3 separate regions of the Homo sapiens genome follow, and all the other regions are linked to region 2. Evidence: promoter capture Hi-C in 16 types of primary human blood cells and fetal thymus (Javierre and others, 2016). All regions are on one chromosome and are shown on one strand. The core of a region is centred on a gene start or on the middle of the fragment in contact, and the rest is flanking DNA. Distances in the headings are between cores, read along the strand shown. Region 1 overlaps SYT16 (synaptotagmin 16). Region 2 holds the start of PRKCH-AS2 (PRKCH antisense RNA 2). Region 3 overlaps SYT16 (synaptotagmin 16).

The links. The method cuts DNA at HindIII sites, captures the fragments that hold promoters and counts their contacts. A CHiCAGO score of 5 or more calls a contact.
Region 1: a contact is called between a fragment that was not itself captured here and the fragment with the promoter of PRKCH-AS2 in region 2, in 1 of 17 cell types (total B cells). The highest score is 5.8, in total B cells.
Region 3: a fragment that was not itself captured here is called in contact with the fragment with the promoter of PRKCH-AS2 in region 2 in 1 of 17 cell types (total B cells); the score reaches 5.5 in total B cells.

Annotation. Positions count from the first base shown.
Region 1 is chr14:62,080,601-62,084,082 of GRCh38, forward strand. SYT16 (synaptotagmin 16) reads left to right here. Exons shown (of 8, transcript NM_001367656.1): 6 at 234-674. Among named protein-coding and RNA genes, the nearest start is that of LINC00644, 58 kb to the right of the region's middle. RefSeq lists an enhancer at 472-591. The HindIII fragment of the contact is 773 bases long and covers 1,618-2,390 here.
Region 2 is chr14:61,543,763-61,547,514 of GRCh38, forward strand. PRKCH-AS2 (PRKCH antisense RNA 2) reads right to left here and starts at 1,722. Exons shown (of 3, transcript NR_188139.1): 1 at 1,332-1,722. All of the region lies in intron 12 of PRKCH (protein kinase C eta), which reads left to right. The HindIII fragment of the contact is 1,799 bases long and covers 251-2,049 here.
Region 3 is chr14:62,097,563-62,101,121 of GRCh38, forward strand. It overlaps SYT16 (synaptotagmin 16), which reads left to right. Exons shown (of 8, transcript NM_001367656.1): 8 at 2,832-3,559. The coding sequence ends at 3,145. Among named protein-coding and RNA genes, the nearest start is that of LINC00644, 41 kb to the right of the region's middle. The HindIII fragment of the contact is 3,229 bases long and covers 217-3,445 here.

The DNA.
Region 1 (3,482 bases), core at 754-3,253, 540 kb after region 2:
TTATCCATTCCAAAAACATTCACGAAGGCGCACCATATGCTAGGCACTTTGCCGTCAAAGAATTCACAGTTTAATGCAGCGATAGACCAGTAAACAGACCTATCTGATATAGAGGGAATACACTGGCAGTTAGAAAGCAGGGATTCTGAAGGAGCACAAAGGGGCACCAACTGGCCAAAATGTAATTGGGTATCATCATTTCCATTTCTAATTGTTTCCTCTGCCTGCAACAGGAACAGGACAGGACCAATTTGCAGGTGCCATCCGGGGTCTCAGAGCCCATCTCAAAGTGTGGTGACCTAGATGTCATCTTTGAATATAGAGCCGCCAGCCAGAAGCTCACAGTGACCATTGTGAGGGCACAGGGCCTCCCAGATAAGGACCGAAGTGGTGTCAACTCCTGGCAAGTTCATGTAGTGCTGCTGCCTGGTAAGAAACACAGGGGCAGGACGAACATACAGAGAGGGCCCAACCCCGTCTTCAGGGAGAAGGTCACCTTTGCCAAGCTGGAGCCCAGAGATGTGGCTGCCTGTGCTGTCCGCTTCCGCCTGTACGCTGCCCGGAAGATGACCCGAGAGAGAATGATGGGAGAGAAACTATTCTATCTCAGCCACCTGCACCCAGAAGGGGAAATGAAAGTGACTCTGGTTCTGGAGCCAAGAAGTAATATAAGCGTGAGTATGTTAAATGGTGCTGCTAATGATGTGGTGTGTTCGAAGACCTGGGATTGTCAGCCCTTGATTTAGTACGTTCAGTCTGTGAATTCAGAGACTTTAATTTAATTTTCCATTTGGCTCTCCTCACCCTTGTAAGCCATGATTTGCACTTCATGGTACAATGGGTCTTTCATGCCTGTCTTCCTGATAACCTGATGGATAAATGCCCTGTCCATTTTAGGACAAAATAGCAGCAGTGTGGTAGAGGGCATGGAGAAAAACAGGGAAGGTGGCTTGGCCCTCTGGATTGTGGATAACTGATCCTACTCCTCCTGCCCCCAATCTGCATCATGATGAATCTCAGAGATGGGACTTTCTGGGCAAGGTTCTTAACGGGTATGCTGGGGCAGACTGAGAGAGCAGCCCAGAACTTCAGCTGCTTCTGAAACCTTTCATTTGTGTTACTACCGTCTTCCCTCATACCCCATTTCCCTGCTTGCCACAGGGTTTCAAGGAAAGGTGTCATAATTTACATGCCTACAGGATGGGCAGCTCACTACTGCTGTGGGTTATATGTCATGTAGTATGCCCATCTCCTTTTACAAAACCACGTTAACAGATCAGGGAGCTCTGTAGGCTCTGGATTCAATCAGTCATTCATTCAGAGATGTTTACTGTCAATTATGGTATAGGCAAAGTGGATGCAGGAAAGAACTAAGCAGGCGATGCCTCTGCCCTTGGAGAGCTTGCAGTCTAGTGGTGGCCAAGTAGGCAAGGAGACAGAGTGATAGGCTGCCGCTTGTTTAGAGGATCAGAGAAAGTTTCTTTGAGGTGGTGATAAAACGCCGGAACTCAAAGCATCGAGAGAGCGAGGCTGGTGCTGTGAGGAGGATGAGAGTTCCAGACAGAGTGAACAGCACATGCAAGCAGTCAGGATGTGGGGTGGCCGGGGGAGTGGGGAAGCTTGTCATATCTGAGGAAGAACAAAGGAGACAGAAAGTCTGGACTGTAGTGGTGGCAGATCTGTCTGCTTAAATGTCCAATGATGTCTCAAAATTAACGTCTTCAGGCCTGAAATCCTGATTTTTGCCTCCCTAAATCTATTCCCCCTGCAGTCTTCTCCATGTTGCTTAAAGGCAGTTGCATTCTTCCAATTGCTGGGGTCAAAAATCTCAGAAGTCATCTGTGACTTTTCTGTTTTCCACCTGAAATCCTATTGGCTCTATCTTCAGGTACAACCAGAACCTGGCTCTCTGCTGGATTACTGAAATAGCTGCTCAGCGGTGGTCTTTCCACTTCTGCCTTTGCCTCTACAGACTCTTCTGGACATGGGAGCCAGAATGAGCTTTTTAAAGTTATAAGCCAGATGATGTCTCAGCTCTGCTCAGATCTCCCTTTTTTCTTAATATCTGAGTAAAGCACATCGGAAATGATGGAAAACAGAATGCAGTGGAGATCAGAAGGGATCCTGCGTGATAGAGCTTGGGAATGGGGATGATCACACCCATATTTATGCTTGCTAGGCCCTATGCTGTGTGCTGGTGGCACGGAGTTGAATGGGGAAAATGAGCTAGTGTAAAAGAACTTTGCAGGTGGAAGTCTTTCATTCACCAGTTATTTGTTGAGCACAGTTATGTGCCAGACATTAGGCTATGCACCAGGGACTGAGAGATTTATACGGATTCAGAATTTGATGGGAGAGGCAAGCAGTGAGTGACAGGTGCCACAGCGGGAAGCTTTTATAGGAGCACAGGAGGGGGAGTGAGTCTCACTTAAGAGTAAGCAAATATTTCATTGTTGAATTTTTATCTTCTAGACAGCAGGGTCTGTAAGACATCTATCACGACCACCTAGCCCTGCCGTTTACAAACTATGTTCCATACAGCCTCAGGTTAGGTGGGGGGCGCTCTGCAGAAATGTCTGTGGTTTGGTAAACAGGATACTTTCCTGCAGATGGGCAGAATATTTGATTCCTTTTATTGGTTCTAATTATTGAGTTTCTGGTCAGAAATTTGAAGAAATGATTTCAAACATTGAGAAGAAAGGTTTAAGTCAAGTCTAATGCCCTTGTTTCTGGTGGAGGAGATGGTGTTTCAGGGGGACAGGATTGCCTGCCCCCACAGGGTCGATTCCTACTCCCGTGCCTTGAGGGACAATCAGTGTCCTTCTCAGTTTTGTGCTCCTCCTCCCGATGTGCCCGTGCCTGGTGGGGAAGTGTAGGTGCTCAGGAGAAGCGTGCCCATGAATAAACATGACAGAAAGCTCAGGTTCTCCTGGGCTCACTTGGTGCCTGCCAGGTCGCTGAGACCCACAACCCATGTGTTGTCTTTTTTCTCAAACAGTTGTAAACGTGCTCATTTGTAATGTAAGTTATTTCTTTAAAAGGCAAAATTTGGCACCTGGCATATATTTAACAACCTTAAGCAGAACTAGGAGCCAAATGTTCTATGTGGGGGTAGACGTCCAGTGGTCATTTCTTTTATAGTTAAGACACAACGCCTCCTGTATTGCCATATTCATCAAGGAGCTGCAGAGAACAGAAACAAACCTCAGGCCTGGAGTGGAGGGGTTCCTTAGAAACATCCAAGCACAGATTACACAGGGGGGAATTTGAGTCTATATTGAATGTATTATTAACTCTCCTTGTATCTTAGAGGGTTTGATTTACACTAGTAATAACGTCTTTGTCCGTTTTGCCTTTAGAGAGGAAATATTGAATGGAGACAGCTCTTGAAACAAATATGTCAGTTCCTAATGCAGGGATCTCATCCGTGACTGTGCTCCCTGGGCCCATTGTAATTCACGCCGAGTGCGCCCTTAGTCATC
Region 2 (3,752 bases), core at 472-2,971:
GAAAGTTTTCTGCAAAAGGATTATGCTGTCACCATTCACAGCAGTAGGAACAGAGAGTTTAGGGAAAGGCCTGTGCCCAGCCTAGGATGGCAAGCTATCCACCTCCAACTCCACACCATCTGCACCAACGTGAACTGTGAAAGATTTCAGGCCTGGGACTAATGTTAAATGTTCCCTTAACTCCTCATCTCCACATCACTGGACGGGGGTAGTGGTAGAAGGGCCACCCCACCACCACCACAACACACAAAGCTTCTACCCCCTTAGTATCACCCCGGACCCTCCTTCTCCCGGTCCTGGTTTCTGTTTCATGGTATTCATCCTCCTCTGGCCTCTTCATGGCATCCTCCAGCTGCCACTCTGGCTGCTTCTCACCCTACACCAGGGGTCAGGAGCCATGAAAGTCCGTGAGTGATACCAGCCAGGTGGGAGGTGATAGGGAGTGGTGGGGCATGTGACTGACTGGGCATCTGGTGCCCCATGAAAAGCAGAAGCCCCTGCTCAACTCCAGGCCGTTTCTATGAGAGGAGTGCAGGCCCAGTGTTCCCGAGTATCTCATTTTCCACGAGAAGTTGGAAAACCTGACTTTTCATGTGATGTGACATTTCCTAGCGTTTAAATATTTGAGAAGTAATTAAAATTATTTCAAAACACACTAGGTAGGCCAAATAAAATGTGTCTGAGACCTAGGGCTGGTATCAGTTCTAGTCTGTCTCTGTCACTTTCCACAATCTAACCTGCCCTCCCAGCTTCAGTGGTTACTCAAATTTCAATGTCTCTGAGCGTTAGATGGCCAGCCCTGGCCTGCACCCCAGATTTACCCTAGAATTCATCTGCATGTGGGTGCCCACACACCTCCAATGCAAAGCGGAGCCCATCAGCCTCCCAGATTTGGCAGACTGTAGGATCTCAGTAAGTGTGAGCTATTTTTGTCTTTGTTCCACTAACAAAAATACTACTACTACTAACACTGCTACTAATACTCATGCTACAAAGAATAATCTCTTGCCCCTCTTTTGTTCCATTTCTGTTACTCAACACCACTGCCCCATCAGGCAGCCAGGGAGGACCCTGTGATCTTGGACTCTTCACTCCCATTCCCGGCAGTTAGTGGATTGTGTTTATTCTTCCACGGCCCTCTAGAATGTGCTTCCAACTCTTCCTTCCAATTAACTAGAAACTCTCCTAGTTGCTGAACTTGTCATGTGTTCTCAGCTATTGTCTCAGCCTCTAACTGCTCACCACCAGGCGCTACCTCTGCATTTAAGATTTATTCATCACGCTGTGGCTAGTGTCATCCCCTAAATTGCCGTGCAGCTCTCATCACTCACCTCGGATGGATCCCACCGGCTGCCCCCGCAGTTCCTCAGCCATCCCTGCATGCCAGCTGTACCAGGCACTTGTATGCCTCTGCATTTGTGCTGGCTGTGTCCTCAGGCGCATTTTCTTCCTTCATGCCTACTATGTTAATTCTGTTCGTCCTCATCTCTGGTCAAATGCCACCTCTTCCACGAGGCTGTCACTTGCCTTCCCACCACCAGCCCCAGTGTTATTTGCCCCGTGCCTCTTCCAAGCTCTCACAGCACTTGATCTAAGTCTCTTTTCATTTCATCCGGCTGTGTATTATGAAGTTTGCTTGATTCTTCCCCCTTCTCTTGATTAGCTCCTGGATGAAGAGACACTGTCTTTGTCATCTGCGTATCCCCAAGAAACCCCTAGTGTGCTGCCTTACATGTAGTAGACACCTTGAAAACCTTTGTCAATTGAATCAAAGTTTGTTTGTGTGTGTGTGTGTTTTGTTTTTTCTTTTGGTTTGTTTTTTTTGTAAGTTGAGGATGGCTGCATCTAAAGGGCTCAGGCCAAGGTATTAAAAACAAAACTGCTTGGTTATTCAAAAGGATTTATCAGAACCCCAAGAGGCTAAGTATCAAGCTAGTGAAAGGGTTATTCTGCCTGTCCCCAATTCCAAGGGTGCAGTTTTTAGAGGACGGACGGTCGTGTTTGGTCTACTTGTCGTCAGGCAAGGCCTCTTCCACAGTGCCCCATGGAAGCTTGGGTTCAGTGCCAGGGGCAGGGAGGAATGGGCAAGCCTCTTGGACACTGGGGCTTCAGCCACCCTGGCATATAGAGTCCTGCACTGTTTGTCTTGCCCAGAAGAACAGGCTGTACCCACCCATTCACAAGATGTCCTCTCTCACATCATTGGCAGGCCTGGGAATTTCCCACAGGCCATCTGGGTGTGTTCTGCCGTCCTGTCTCCCAAGTTTTTTGCAGCATTGTTTCTTGTTAATTAGCTCTTAGAATAGCAACTGCTCTTCCATCAGGAATTGTATCCCGTTGACTTTCCTAAGGCAAGAATCTACTCATTTCTTTTTTGTAAGCATTTTCTCCCTTCCTGCCTGCATTGCACAGGCTTACTTAGTGAGAGCCCAAGCAGTGTGAACTAACTCCTAGCTCTTACAGAACTGAGTTACTTATAATATGCATCTCCTGAATCCTGGGTGACCACTGTAAGTGCCTGAAGTGGCAGCTGCTCTGACTGGGCCTGTGCAGCTCTGAATGCTGCATTTACTTTTGGGTCCTGCCTCCAACCCAGAACCACCTGTGGCCTTTAATTCCTGTTACTAGGAGAGAGGAGAAGCGATTAAACCCTGTCAGTATATTCATTTATTAGCTGCCCTTTGAAGCTTTTTTGAAAGCATTTTACAAGGTATATCCCGTCAGGTTGCTTAGGAACTTTTGCAGCCTCCTTCTTCAACATTATCATTTTCATTTGAATCAACACTGGCAGCTTGACACCTCTGGACACCTGGCATGGCAGTGGGAGGTACCTCCAAACACTGTCTTTCCGTGTCTGCACCTTCAACAAGATTTTCTCTGTAAATTCAGCTCCAAAACAATTTTTATAAACACAGCATTACTTTTGTGTTGTTCACAAATCAGATTTGGAAAGAGGTGCTTGGGGACTGTCATGAGTCTATTTAAAGATAACCTGATTTAAATAAAAACAAAAACAAAACTTTTTATCCAAGGCAATTTTCTTTCAATATGGGAAATTAAATTAGCTTCAGTGTCTTTGAAATTGAGAACCACACTCCGGCCATGAAAAGTGAATTATCCTGTACTAATCCTTGCTCAGGAAGTGATCAAAACACCTTTCCTGGCTATTTTGTGAAAGCAGATTTAGCCCAGCATATTTTGATAGGAGCCCAGCACTAAGGAAGTTTCCCAACTGATGGAAATACAGAGAATCTCTATGCACACATCGCTTAGCTGTGTGGCAGCGCTCGTTTTAGTTTTTGGTCTATGGAGCAATGGAATCTCAGTCATTGAACCTACTTCGAAACAGCAGTGGTGGGGGGAACATCTTGAAGAAAAGCCTTTCATCTAGAGCTATGATATCTTCGCTGCATAAAGAAAAGTGGCCAACTTTGTTTTTTCTAGAGCCAGGACACAGACCTTTTCAGTATGTCACCTTTGCTGCTTCTTCACACAGATCTTCAAAAATAACGACTCTCTCTCCTCTCTGTGGTCTCGTCAGAGAGCAGGAATCCTGGCCAGCTGGTCAGGTCACTCAGAAAAATGGCACAGCTGTTTCTGAAAGTAGCCCCATTCATAAGATGTCTGCTGCCCACAACTGCAGTGTTGGGGAAAGGCACACTGTTATAAAGAGCTTCTTTTCTTTAAAGAGGAAAGAAAAATACATGGTGTTTACAGAAAAGAAAACTGGACCCTCCTGCTTTCTTTTAGTG
Region 3 (3,559 bases), core at 581-3,080, 550 kb after region 2:
TAAGAAGTAGGTGCATTATTACTGTTAATAGATGTTTCCGTTTTGAACTAGAACAATGAACATTTTCCTTCCTTTTGTCTGGTGTCTTCAGACTGGATTGCTTTTAAGATTATTATTATTTCTCTGCGTTATACACATACAATCCAACTTCAGTGATAGTAATTTGGTAGTAAGTGGCCTTTCTCATAATTAGAAAATACTCTTATGGCAGGATAAAGCTTGAAATTGCTCTCTTTGTGAAATGAGCATGCTTTTGTTTGCAAGATTAACTCAATTCCCACTGCTATACCTGGCAGCACAATTGCCCAATCAGTTTGGTGACTGGACTGAACTTTTTCTACAGGAATCATGTAGCTATGCAGCTTCAGAAACACAAATCCACTCCCTCATTGTTGGTTTTCTGACAGCTTTTTCTGTAGAACAGTTTGAAGAGAAGAGAGCCCTGTTTCTGAGACAGAGAAGTGTTTTCACACCTGAAGTGTAATTTCACACCTTGTGTTTCTCAGCAGATAAGTGCATAAAATAACACATCAAACTGAAATAGAAAAAGATCAACATAGAAAGAAAACTGCAGGTTGTAATTTGTTTCCTATCTTACAATGCTTTTGGAGAGAACAGTAAATTACAGAGATCTGCGTTTACGCTTTAAAAAGTTTGACTGGTCGTTAGGTGGGAAAATGAGCAGTAAACACTAATCAGCTTGCTGCCTGCATTGAACAGAATGTACAGAATGATTGAATTTGGGAAACACCCTAACATTTTGAGTTTTAAGGAGAATAATGTGTGCATGTTAGTAGTAAAAGTTGCAGATAAAGGTCAAGACATTTATAAATTGATTTTAATAAAAATGTGATTGAGGAGATAATTATTTTATGATGGTTCCATTCAGGAATTTTAGCAAAAGGAGATCATGTTAGTAAAATTTGAGTGCTTTCTTTCCTTTCTATATTGACGCTAGTCACTGTTTTCTGGCACTCTAGTGGAGGGGTTCTACGATGAGGAGGTTTAGCTTTATTGCACAAGTTTGAAAACTTGAGACTGAAAGAAAAAGTTGAGCTTCCTGACTAGACATGAACATTCATTACAAAATATTTATTGAAGGTCTAGCACATGGTAGTCACGAGCTAAGCATCAGGGGTTCAATGGTTAATAAGGAAATCCCTCTCTTTACCACTGGAAAACTGCATCTTTGCAGACAAATAGGCAGCGATAATACTGGTGATAAGTGCTGAGACAGGCTAAAACTAGGTTTTAGTGGAGACTATAAGAGGGTTATCTGAACTGGTGGGAGTGAGAGAAAAAGGTCAGAAAGGTCAGCAAATATTCCCAGATAAAGTGATATCCAGATTGAACTTAATGAACAAAAGTCATATGAGGCTGAGTATTAGTGGGGATGTCAGAGCATGGGGAACATGTACAGATGAGACAGGGAAAAAGAACAAATTGGGTTGGAGGAGGGGAGGAAGTTCAATGTAGTAGAATGCAGTGTATAATGGCAGCAGTGGTAAGCAATGAGACTAGAAGATAGGGCCAAAGAAGACAGTCTACACCAAGAAATTGAGCTCTCATCTTGAGACTAGTGGGAAGTATTGAAGACTTTGTTTGTGTTTATTAGTGAGAGTGACATGGCCAGATTTGTATTTCACAGAGATTGCTCTGGCAGTCCCCTGACTAGAAGGTCAGTGAGGAAACGTGAGGTAATAAAGGTGAGAAATGCTGGCACCCTGAGCTTGCAGTGTACACAGAGTTCAGAGGCACTGGGGATGGAAAGAAGTGGGTAGATTTGGGAGCTGTTTGAGAGTTAGAATCAACAGAATGTGGCAACTGATTGGGTGGACTGGGAATGAGGAAGTCAGTCTTGTGAAAAATGAGGTCCTGATTTCTGACTTGGATAATTTGGTGAATGATGCTGCTATTCACAGGGATAGGGAACACTGGAACAGCAAATGTTTAGAGTTGGGGGCATATTGAATGTAAGATTAGTGTAAGATTTCAAGAGAAGAAGTGTAGTATTCAGCTGGATCTCGAGTTTGGGAGAGAAGTTGAGGCCAGACCTGTGGACTTGGTAGATGTCATTGAAACTATGGGAGTGGATGAGATGGTCCAAAGGATATGTAGATGCCTGGGCAACATAGGGAGACCCTATTTCTACAAAAAGTTAAAAAATTAGCTGGGCATGATGGTGCATGCCTGTGGTTCCAGCTACTCAGGAGGCTGATGGGGTAGGATCGCTTTGGGCCCAGAAGTCAAGGCTTTAGTGAGCTGTGATCATGCCACTGCACCCCAGCCTGGGCAACGGAGCAAGACCTTGTGTGTCTGTCTGTCTGTCTGTCTGTCTCTCTCTCACTCACACACACATGCACACACACATACACAGACATATGAATATGTAGAGAGTGAGAAAAGAATTCTCCAATTCAGGCATAAAATAGCAATTTGACTATGAAAAAATCATGTAGAGCAAAATGTGTATATTTATCTTGTTACATAAATAAATGTAGATGAAGAACTGTGCCTGCCCACAAGCACCATTGCACGTATGCCTGTGCACGAATGTATACACCCTGTGCATGTAGAAGTACTAATGAACATCAGCAATGTGTGCTGGATAGTGAGCCACATGAAACATTAGGTATTCAAGGTAATAATTCCCTTCCTTAATAATTCATGCAAGATGTGTTGCCCAACAGCAAGAACCAGGCTTAAGGATACTGATCAGTATGTTGAAAGGAGAAATTTGTAGCCCATATAAATGTTACAGCTAGTCTAGCCAAACAGAGAGCACTAATGTTTCTTATCATCCCCACCCCACCCTTTTTTTTTTGTCTTAGATACATATGGAAAACTCTTTCTCCTCAATTCTGTGGGTCAAGAGATGTCCCGTTGCAAGACGTCCATTCGGCGTGGTCAGCCCAATCCTGTCTATAAGGAGACCTTTGTTTTCCAGGTGGCCCTCTTTCAGCTGTCTGATGTCACGTTGATGATTTCCGTTTATAACAGGCGTACTATGAAGCGTAAAGAGATGATTGGCTGGATTGCCCTGGGCCAGAACAGCAGTGGAGAGGAGGAACAAGATCACTGGGAGGAGATGAAGGAAACCAAAGGCCAGCAGATCTGCAGATGGCACACTTTGCTGGAATCCTAGGTTTGCTAACCTGCATTTGTGTGCTGTGTCCACCTTGGTTACCTGTGTTGCTGTCTACTGACACTAAGTGTCCTGGCAAGGGTTTCAGGGTTTCAAAAACAGATTCCACTAACCCCTAGGACATTGTGAGTGGGAGTTTTGGGTTTCTCAATGGTCTGATTTGGATTTAAATATTGTAATTTTAAAAACACACATACACAGTGAAGTGTCCGTATGGAAAATATTATACCACAATTAAGACCACTGATGAGTTAATTTGTGCCAATAGATCATTGAGTTTTAGTTCAGGGTATGGGGTGAAGCTTCTTCTGCTGTCTCTGTTTGCTTGAAGAGTAACCTGAGATTGCAAGGGAGCTGTTAATTGTTACTATTTGCAACCATTTAGGTGGATGAATCAGAATTTTCTTAATATGG